2 separate regions of the Homo sapiens genome follow, and region 2 is linked to region 1. The links are contacts of gene promoters, found by promoter capture Hi-C in blood cells and fetal thymus (Javierre and others, 2016). All regions are on one chromosome and are shown on one strand. The core of a region is centred on a gene start or on the middle of the fragment in contact, and the rest is flanking DNA. Distances in the headings are between cores, read along the strand shown.

Region 1 (5,247 bases), core at 1,773-4,272:
AATTTACAAGAAAAAAACAACCCCATCAAAAAGTGGGCAAAGGATATGAACAGACACTTCTCAAAAGAAGACATTTACACAGCCAACAGACATATGAAAAAATGCTCATCATCACTAGTCATTAGAGAAATGCAAATCAAAACCACAATGAGATACCATCTCATGCTAGTTAGAATGGTGATCATTAAAAAGTCAGGAAACAACAGATGCTGGAGAGGATGTGGAGAAACAGGAAAGCTTTTATGCTGTTGGTGGGAGTGTAAATTAGTTCAACCATTGTGGAAGACAGTGTAGTGATTCCTTAAGGATCTAGAATTAGAATTACCATTTGACCCAGCAATCCCATTACTAGGTATATACCCCAAGGATTATAAATCATTCTACTCTAAAGACACATACACATGTATGTTTATTGCAGCACTATTCACAATAGCAAAGACATGGAACCAACCCAAATGCCCATCAATGATAGACCGGATAAAGTAAATGTGGCACATATACACCATAGAATACTATGCAACCATAAAAAAGGGTGAGTTCATGTCCTTTGCAGGGACATGGATGAAGCTGGAAACTGTCATTCTCAGCAGACTAACACAAGAACAGGAAACCCAACACCTCATGTTCTCACTCATAGGTGGGAGTTGAACAATGAGAACACCTGGACACAGGGAGGGGAACATCACACACTGGGGCCTGTCGGAGGTGGGGGGCTAGGGGAGGGATAACATTAGGAGAAATTCCTAATGTAGATGACGGGTTGATGGGTGCAGCAAACCACCCTGGCACTTGTATAGCTATGTAACAAACCTGCACATTCTGCACGTGTATCCCAGAACTTAAAGCATAATAAAAGAAGGAAGGCAAGGAAGGAAGGAAGGAAAGGAAGGAAGGAAGGAAAGGAAGGAAGGCAGGCAGGCAGCCAAGAACATGTAAACAAATATCTGTGGCTTTACAAAAACACAGGAAGAATAGATGAGAAATCATGACATTGTTTACTCACACAGGATTGGCTAGAATGTGTGGAACAAAGGAGGGAAGAAAATTCCCTGAGTATACGTTTTCAGATCTTTTTAATATTCTTTAATTTTTTCTTTTATCCGCTTTTAAGTTCTGGAGTACATGTCCAGGATGTGCAGATTTATTACACAGGTAAACGTGTGTCATGGTGGTTTGCTGCACAGGTCAACCCCATCACCTAGGTATTAAGGTCTAGCATCCACTAGCTGTTCTTCCTGATACTCTCCCTAATATTCTAATACCAAATAAATGTAATTAAGCCAGCAAGGATGGGAAGGGGGTAGGGGGTGGGGAAGACTCATATTAAAAGCAAACTCATCTCTAAACCAGAAATAATAGCAATATCTATACAAGTAAATACATGTACTCAGAACAGTGCCTACTACATGTAAACACTGAACAGGTGTTAGCAACATTGCCATTATTGTGTTAGTATATTAGGTACCTGGTGCTACCGGCAAAACCAGTTTATCATCCAACTGTCTCCAGTGTTGCTACTCAAAGTTTGGTCCTCCAGTAGCCTATCAGGATCACCCAGGGGCCTGTTAGAAAGGCACATCTCAGACCCCACCCCAGACCTACTGAATCAGAATCTGCGTTTTTAACGGGATCCGCAGGTGATTCCTATGCACATTAAAGTGTAAGAAGTACTGGGCTACAGACAGGTATGTGACAAAATAATTTCATAGGATGGCAAAGGCCAAGTGGCAAATGAAGGACACCAGAAATGCACGTCCCAGGAGCCCAACTCCTCCTTAGTAAATTACCCTATTAAGATTTGTTTAGAGATGTTCAAAAGCGTGGAGAAAAGCAAATTTGGTTTCCTCAGCTAGGGACGCGGAGAGTGGTCTGGTGCCCTTGAAGAGATCGCCCTCGTGTGGAGTAGGGAGGGAATCTCTAGCCTTTCCTCTCGGATGAAGAACAGCACCAGCGCTCCCAGCCAAAGGCCTGGCCCAGGTTCTGGAGGTGGGGTCTCCTTGGCAGAAGCCTCTGGTGTCTGCAGGCGTGCATTTACAGCTTTAAGACCAAACAGCTAGTCCGCCACGTGTCACTACAGTGTGCACGCGCAGAAATGCACAAAGCAAAAAAAAAAAAAAAGATGCTCTTAATGAACCAACTATAATCCTTGCTAAGGCATAAAGCCAGAGGGAAGTATGTATCTGAAATCATTTTCTACCCCTCACCCTCTTGGAGCCCGGCACTCTGGCTGCGGTGCTCTCTTGTATCCCAGTTGCTAGATGCAAAACAAGCTATTTCCTATCTAATTTTTTTTTTTAAGAGACGGAGTCTCGCTTTGTTGCCCAGGCTGGTCTCAAACTCCTGGACTCAAGCAATTCTCCCAGCTTGGGGTAACGTGTTACATTATTCTACTTAATAAAAAGCAAAAGTTGTTTTATAAATTCTAACTTAAATGCCCAGAAAATAACTTATCATGCATTGCCTTGTCGTGCAATAGTCAATATTTGCAAACCAAGTGTTAACCAAAGGCAGTTCATCAAAGATTTTTGAAAATTAAAAAAAAAAAAAAACTCATACTCACATTGTCCTCAGGATTTCCTGTTTTCGAAATGTTCCTGTACGAATCGGAGTCTCTATAATGATTGTAATTGAAAAGATAAGTCAGGTTTTTTGTGTTTTTTTTTCATTTTAAAATCATAATACGCAATGTTTTCCACTTGAACGCTATACCTTGTGTATTGTGCTTGCTTCAGCCTCGAGCCTCTACTGATGTTCCACCTCAAGGCGACAGGAATGCCACCTGGAGAAACTCCTGGGCGGTATGGGAAGAAAGCCGGTCTCATCAGAGTATATTTGCGGGGATCGACGACCAAGGTGTTAAATTCCAAGCACGCTTTGGAAAGTTCTAGGTGCTTGGGAAGAGATCCGTAGGCGGCAGGGATGCCCGCGCCCCGGCGTCCCAGCGCGGAGGGTGGCGGCGGGGCCTGGCCCTAGCGGGGCGGGGCGGGCTCGGGTTACCGGGAGTCGCGGGGCGCGGCCGGCACTGCCCGCGGCGCCTCCTCCTAGAGCCGCACCTGGAGGCAGCGCGCGCGTCGAAGAGGCAGCGGCTGTGGAGCGCGGCGGGGCGGCTCCGCCCAGGGCAGCCCGGGCTGGTGAGTGCGCGCGGGCGGCCGCGGGGCCGGGGGTCGCGGTCCCTCGGGAGGGGACTGAGCTGAGGCCCGCGGGCCCACCCGAGCAGGGGCCCTCGCTGTCACCGCCTCTGCCCCTGTCTCCCAGGCCCCATGTCGCGCTTTTTCCCTAAACGAACCGGTGACAGGGCTGACCTGCCCGCACTCTGCTGGTCCCTACGCCGGGAAGGAGAAAGTCTCACGAAGCTCTTTCCTTTGCAACCCCTGTCCCCTTGCCCTCTGCAGCTCCACACAGCATTTTTACTTCCCGTTTGCCTCCTCGAATCCCTTCGGTGCTAATCCAGCCCTTCGCCGTTTCCAGTTTGGGTCTGGCCTGTTTGTATCCAAATCGAATTACACAAAACCAGGCCCTCAGTTCTGCCTCTGGCCCTCTTTCCGGAGACGGGCCCTGCCTCCTCCTGTGCCGGGCTGGGCTTGCCCGGCATTGGCCGCCCGGAGCTCCCAGGGAGCAAGGCTGTGGTCCCGAAACTGGGCCCTCCGCTCAGCGCCGGGCAAGGCTCAAACCCCGGGTCTCTGACTTATCCGGTCACGAAGGGACTGCTCAGAGCCTAACAGCCCTAAAATTTGGTATTGGCCCCCTCCCGGGAAATCCTTCTCCCTACCAATCAGGCATCGCGGCAGGTGCTCTGCCATCATAGAGGCTCTGACACGCTGAACTCTCGAAGCTCGCGGCAGTGTTTATTTTTAGGAGAGATTTAGTTGATCGGGAACCAATTGACTTGGTTGACTGCCTCATCTAGTGCGCACCTGGGCCGGGCCCCGCCGGGAAGGCGTGCTGGACGTTCTCAGTGAGCTCCGAGACCTACAGAAGAAACAGCTGCAAGGATCCGATCAGCTAGCTGTGAAGAAAGCCTCAGATACGCTGTGGGGTGGGCAAAATTCTTTTCCTAGCTTCGATGAGTACTGTGGATTCTAGAATTTAAACAACATTCATGGAGACTCTTAAAACAACAAAAAATATCAACTTTTTGCGGGCACAGACTGAGATTTAGCTTTTTCCTATCTGAAAACTGAACAATGTGCACTAGATATAAATGTATTATCTAAAGTTTAGGAATTTACAGCATAGAAATGCAGGGGAATTCGGAGTATGCAATACGAAGTATCAACCTTTTTGAAAATGAAATTTAAAATGTATTTTTGTCAGGCATTCCTTCTAATTACGGTAGTATTGCTTTGTATCAGAAGACTTTCAGGCAAAGGACAGGAGGGAAGAGAGAGAAATTCAAACTAATTTGCATTAGAAAGAAACTTAGGGTGAAGAATTGCCTAGGTAAGGTTGCTATAGCTCATATCTTAAGTGCACTCTTGGAAAGCTTTCTAGTCTATTAGGTAACACCTGAAGCCCCAATTCTCTTATGTAGCATTTCTTTTTTTCTCTCTTTAACTACTCTGAAACTATACAGAGTTACACGTTCCTCATTAATTTATGAGTGAAACCAAAAGAATTGACTCAATCCAACAAGTATTTGAGTGCTTTTCGCATAGAGGCGCTTTGCTAAGAACAGAAGAATGGAAGACTGAGGAAGTTTCTAACAATCAATGGATTGCCTTGTGAGGTGTAGATGCAGGTGTGCACTGCCTATTTAATTGACGATCAAAGTCAGTTGAGTTTTCATCTCATTCTAAATATCATGTGTTGCCCCCTGGTATCTTAATTTTTCTACCGTTGCAGGTAGTCTGCATTTTAGTAACCCAAGTGAAACAGTTTTCTAGGGAAATCATGATAAATAGGAAGCACGTCCGTATTCCCAGGTGTTCTCATTATCATTAAGTTAATAAAGTTAAGAAAAATAAGATGATGATTTTCCTTTCTTTTGGTTTCAAACTAGTGAAATCTTGCACAAAAGACACAGCATGGATAAATTTAATCATTTTGTGACTCAGAGTACATTTTATGTAAGTCCATTCTGTTGGAGGATAGATCCAATTTCATGAACTCTTTTAATCCTTCTTTTGAAGACTAGTTCCAGGACCAACTTCATAAAATGTTTTATTGTAGGTACCAACAACTATCAACATCATTATCTTCTCCCCACCTTCACCCTTGAAAACAATTGTATTCTAGAGGATTATGAAG
Region 2 (5,247 bases), core at 1,580-4,079, 1.5 Mb before region 1:
GGAGGGTAGTCCTCATTTTCTTGAGGTTCTCAAGTAAGTACACTCCTAATTTCATAATAGAAAAGCCTGCTTTGGTGTGAATCATTTGTTGGCATCCATGAACCAGAGACTCCCTGTTTCTCTCTCCTTGGTGCTAAGCTGCCTGGTTTGACTTTATGACATCACAGGATGAAGGAAAAGTAAGATTGCCAAGAAGGAAGTACATGTATCTAAGGCTGCATCCCAGTCAGGGTAAGACCTGTTCTCAGTGGGCTGGGAAGGGAGCAGTGAGTGTTGGAAGGACTTTAGATCAGACCCCAGGGTAGTGACACCCATACCTGCGGGAGGTAGAGGGGAGAAGGAAGCCTCCGGCAGGGCAGATGTCTCCCTGGGAAGATCCTCAGCTCTCTTACAGGAAGGTTCCGGGAACATTTGCGGCCAGTTTCACAAAACTTTCTCTTTCTCCTTCATCATCTGGGCCCACAGCCTGGGGCCTGACCCTAACAGGTCATTCATCAACAACCCTTCTTGAATCTGCTCTGGTCTTGGGTCACCCGTGGCCTTCATATGGCCAAATCCCTCATTAGATCCCTCGCTGTAACTTCACTCTTTTTGTTTTTCTTGAGACAGAATCTCACTCTGTTGCCCATGCTGGAGTGCAGTGGCGTGATCTCGGCTCACTGTAACCTCCGCCTCCCTGGTTCAAGCGATTCTCCTGCCTAAGCTTCCCGAGTAGCTGTGATTACAGGTATGCGCCACCATGCCCAGCTAATTTTTTATTTTTAGTACAGATGGGGTTTCACCATGTTGGCCAGGCTGGTCTCGAACTCCTGAGCTCAGGTGATCCACCCACCTCGGCCTCCCAAAGTGCTGGGATTATAGGAGTGAGCCACCGCACCCGGCCTAATCTCACTATTGATTAGTCAGTCCTTCATTCCTAAAGCTCTCTTCTTCTTCTCCCTCCTCCCCCTCCTCCTCCTCCTCCTTCTCCTCTCCCTCCTCCTCTTCCTCCTCTTCTTTTTGAGACAGGGTCTTGCTCTGTGACTCAGGCTTCTTGACTACAGCGGCACAATCATAGCTCACTGTGGCCTCTACCACCTCCAGGCTCAAATGATCCTCCCACCTCAGCCTCCCACATAACTAGGACCACAGGCACGCGTTACCATGCCCAGCTAATTTAAAATTTTTTTTTATAGAGATGGGGTCTCATTATGTTTCCCAGGCTGGTTTCAAACTCCCGGACTCAAGTGATCCTCCCACCTTGGTCTCCTGAAGTATTGGGATTACAGGCATGAGCCACTGCACCTGGCCATTAAAGGTTTCTTCTTTGTTGAGTATTGTCAACTCTGGGACTGTACTTCTGACCCACAGTATCTGTGGTGGGCAGGGAGCTGAGAAGTAAGTGGGAAAATGAAAGTGTGAAGCCAGTGAGCCAGGCCTGGAATAGGGTGAGGCAAGTGAGTGTCTAGGGTATAAAATTTAAGGAGCTCACTTGCAGGGTCATGCAAGTGTGAGGTGAGTGCTTCTTTAAAACTTGCAGGGCCAGTCGTGGTGGCTCATGCTTGTAATCCCAGCACTTCGGGAGGCTAAGGTGGCAGGATTGCTTGACCCAGGAGTTCAAGACCAGCCTGGGCAACATAAGGAGATGCTGTGTCTACAGAAAATAAAAAAAAATTAGCCAGGTGTGATGGTGCACACCAGTGGTCCCAGCTATGTGGGAGGTTTAGGTGGGAGGATCGTTTGAGACCAGGAGGTCGAGGCTGCAGTGAGCCATGAACGCACCACTGCACTCCAGACTGGATGACAGAGCAAGACTGTCTCAAAAAACAAGCAAACAAACAAAAAAACAAAAAAGCTTGCCCCCTAGGTACCTAGCTTGCCTCACCCTAATCCCAGCCTTGCCCATGAGTGCATGCTGCTCATCAGAAGGCGTGCTGGGAATGTTTGCTTGGATTTGAGTTACTTAGACACTGCGACCAGAGCATATTTTTTCTTCCTACTGCATGACACCACCACGCAACAGAAACCCCAGGGCATGCAGAAGTTCTGCAGACTCTTAGGCTGAATAATAATAACCAGCTGTGATCAGAACACAACCACTCCCCACAGAATATCAGGAAAACACTTTGTTGGGGGAGTAAAATTAGAATGTTATTACAACTACTTAGATAGTATGCACATGAAGAGTTTTCCACCTGAAGGCTTGGCAAGGACTAGCTCTTCAAACAGATTTGTAAAGAGAGTAAGTGGAAGGAAATAAAAGTCAGAATTTTCCTCTCCAGATGTGGCCATCACTCCTTCAGTCTTAAGACCGTGAGACACGAGGACAATTTGCAGAATTTGGTGGAAGCATCAGTGTGGTGTAATTGCCACCTTGTGAAACATTCTGCTCTTTTAAAAACTTGGCTAACATTTCCCATGCACCATGGATGTTGCCTATCAGGGGAGGTAATTTAAAATATGTCACATTCTCCCAGGTTTGTACAGAGCAGGAATGAATAAATAAGTCATTCAATGCTGCTTTGGATCTTTGTTCAGTCAGATTTGTCCTTGTAACATGTCATGGGCTCGGAGTTGCCCATGTTACATTTCCAAAGGGCTCTTTGCAAATCCTTTTCAAAGCTGTCATTTGAATCACTGCTCATGAGTGCAGCATTTATAATGGCCCTATTGTCCAGGCTATCTAAATGCTACTTGGCTGAATTTTCCACGTGTTTACAGATGTTGAAATGTCTCCTGTGGTTGGTTTCTGCTCATTGTTCCTGTCTGACCTTTTTAATTAGGGTCTGGAGCCCCCACAGTCAGGAGAGCTGACTCCTCCTGTCTCCCTTTGGATCTGACATACCGATTTCAACACAGGAGACGATGGAGGATAATTACTAAAATTATTCTAGCTACTTATGCAGATCTTCGGTGAGAAGGGGCAGAAAATGGCCTAAGAGTCAGGCCTTGATAATTCTGTGCTATTTCTGTATGCAGTGGACAATGAGACTTTGACACAAGGCACAACACTTTCTCATGTGTTTTTTTCTTTGGAAAGTAAGTATTTCACAAGAAGGGATTTCAATTAACTCATGAACGTCTCTTTCTCTTCTTCCACTCATTCCCCTTAAGGAACACTGTGAAATATATTAAAAGCAAGAAAACAGGCACAATTACTTGGCAGGCCTTACCCAGGCACATTGAAAATAGAATGTTGCTGCTGATTTATAAATCCTAATAATATTAACTGTCCAGTTTTGGCATGAAGCCATTCCATATTTTACATAGGTTGAAAGGCTTTTACTATTGAAGCCCAGAAGACAGGTCCATGGCAGGGTGACAGTGTAGCATCCTTGACTCTTAGTGCATTTGATGAGAACTAATAAATTGGCGGCCAGGCACGGCGGTGGCTCACGCCTGTAATCCCAGCACTTTGGGAGGCCAAGGCAGGCAAATCACCTGAGGTCAGGAGTTCGAAACCAGCGTGTCCAACATGGTAAAACCCTGTCTTTACTAAAAATACAAAAATTAGCCAGGTATGGTGGCAGGTGCTTGTAATCCCAGCTACTTGGGAGGCTGAGGCAGGATAATCACTTGAACCCAGGAGGCAGAGGTTGCAGTGAGTTGAGATCACGCCACTGCACTCCAACCTGGGTGACAGAGTAAGACTCCATCTAAAAAAAAGAATTAATAAATTAGGGGGTGATCTTAATGTTCTGTCCCTACTTTAGTGACTGACATGCACTTTCCTGAAAGTGCTGTCCTTTGAAATACTTTGAAAGTGTTGGCTTTTCAAAATAATAAATTCATCTCTGTTCATTGTCATTTAATATTGAGCTTCATACATGTTCCTTTAAGCTTCCTCTCCTTCCTGTGTGGGAAAGACTACCAGCTTCGTATCATTTTCCCGTTTCTTGATTCTGTCCTTACTTCCCTTCCTGCCAGAGGTACTCTCTCTCTCTCAGCGAGGTCTGTCCCACAGGTGTTCTTTCTCCAAATATCATCTTGAAGTCAATTGGCCTTCCTTGATAATATGTTTCCTGATTTTCTCGGCGGCATATAGTTCAGTGGTTAAATGTGTGTGTTCAGGAGCCATTCTCCCTGGCTTTCAACCCTAATTCAACAACTTACCAGCTGGGTAACTCTAGAGAAGATGTTTTACATATCTGTGCTTCAATTTCCCCATTCAATAGGCTGGGGTACTTCCTTTCCAACCTGTCATGAAGATTGAAATGATGCTTATAAGGTGTTTATAACAGAAAGTATAAACCTGGCACATAGAAAGAGCTCAATAAATATTGACAGTATATATATATATATATTAGAGATGGGGTCTCACTCGGTCACCAAGGCTGGAATGCAGTGGCAAAATCACAGCTCGCTGCAGCCTTGACTTTCTGGGCTCAAGCGATCTTCCCACCTCAGCCCCGTAAGTAGCTGGGACTACAGGCGCATACCACCATGCCTGGCTAATTTTTGTAGAGACAGAGTTTTGTTGTCAAGGCTGGTCTCGAACTCCTGGGCTCAAGCGATCCGCCTGCCTCAGCCTCCCGAAGTGCTGAGATTATAGGCATGAGCCATCATGCCTAGCCAATAATTTTTTTTTAGACACAGTGTCTCATGCTGTCACTGAAGCTGGAGTGTAGTGTCAAGATGACAGCCCGCTGCAGCCTCAAACTTCTGAGCTCAAGCAGTTCTCCCACCTCAGCCTCCCGGAGTGCTGGGATTACAGGCATGAACCACCGCGCCTGGCCCTTTCCAGCTTCGTGGCCCATAAATGTCTTTCTGAAGTAACTGGAAGCCATATCTTTGAAATGTAAACATCAGAGGAGATTGTGCCCCTCTCTCCCAGTTTCTGAGTGAGGGCAGGAGCCTAACTTTGGGAGGTGCCTTGCTTCCAGTTGTAAAACTACCTGTCATAAAGACAAGAGAAGTTTATTTTCCCTTTGTATAAAACCAATTAATTAACAGATAATCACCCTCAATTACCAGGTGAATTTAGGATGCACTATATGTAATAAATGGTGCTGCCCAGTCCTCTTACTTGAGGACTAGTTACTGTGTGTCTTGAGAACTTTTATGTAATGGGTGGTACTGGCTATATAAAAGGGTGAGATTTCGGCTGGGCACAGTGGCTTACACTTGTAATCTCAGCACTTTGGGAGGCTGAGGCGGGCAGATCACCTGAGGTCAGGAGTTCGAGACCAGCCTGGCCAACTGTTGAAACCCTGTCTCTAATAAATACAAAAATTAGCGGGGTGTGGTGGTGGGTGCCTGTAATCCCAG

Evidence for each region. The method cuts DNA at HindIII sites, captures the fragments that hold promoters and counts their contacts. A CHiCAGO score of 5 or more calls a contact.
Region 2: a contact is called between a fragment that was not itself captured here and the fragment with the promoter of SLC26A5 in region 1, in 1 of 17 cell types (naive CD8 T cells). The highest score is 5.3, in naive CD8 T cells.

What each region holds. Positions count from the first base shown.
Region 1 is chr7:103,443,982-103,449,228 of GRCh38, reverse strand. It overlaps SLC26A5 (solute carrier family 26 member 5), which reads left to right and starts at 3,022. Exons shown (of 20, transcript NM_198999.3): 1 at 3,022-3,131. SLC26A5-AS1 (SLC26A5 antisense RNA 1) reads right to left here and starts at 4,022. Exons shown (of 4, transcript NR_110141.1): 1 at 2,710-4,022; 2 at 2,561-2,612. RefSeq lists a silencer at 2,947-3,016 and an enhancer at 3,073-3,649. The HindIII fragment of the contact is 4,246 bases long and covers 240-4,485 here.
Region 2 is chr7:104,898,141-104,903,387 of GRCh38, reverse strand. The region is part of intron 2 of LHFPL3 (LHFPL tetraspan subfamily member 3); the gene reads right to left. All of the region lies in intron 3 of LHFPL3-AS2 (LHFPL3 antisense RNA 2), which reads left to right. Among named protein-coding and RNA genes, the nearest start is that of LHFPL3-AS2, 26 kb to the left of the region's middle. The HindIII fragment of the contact is 1,985 bases long and covers 1,837-3,821 here.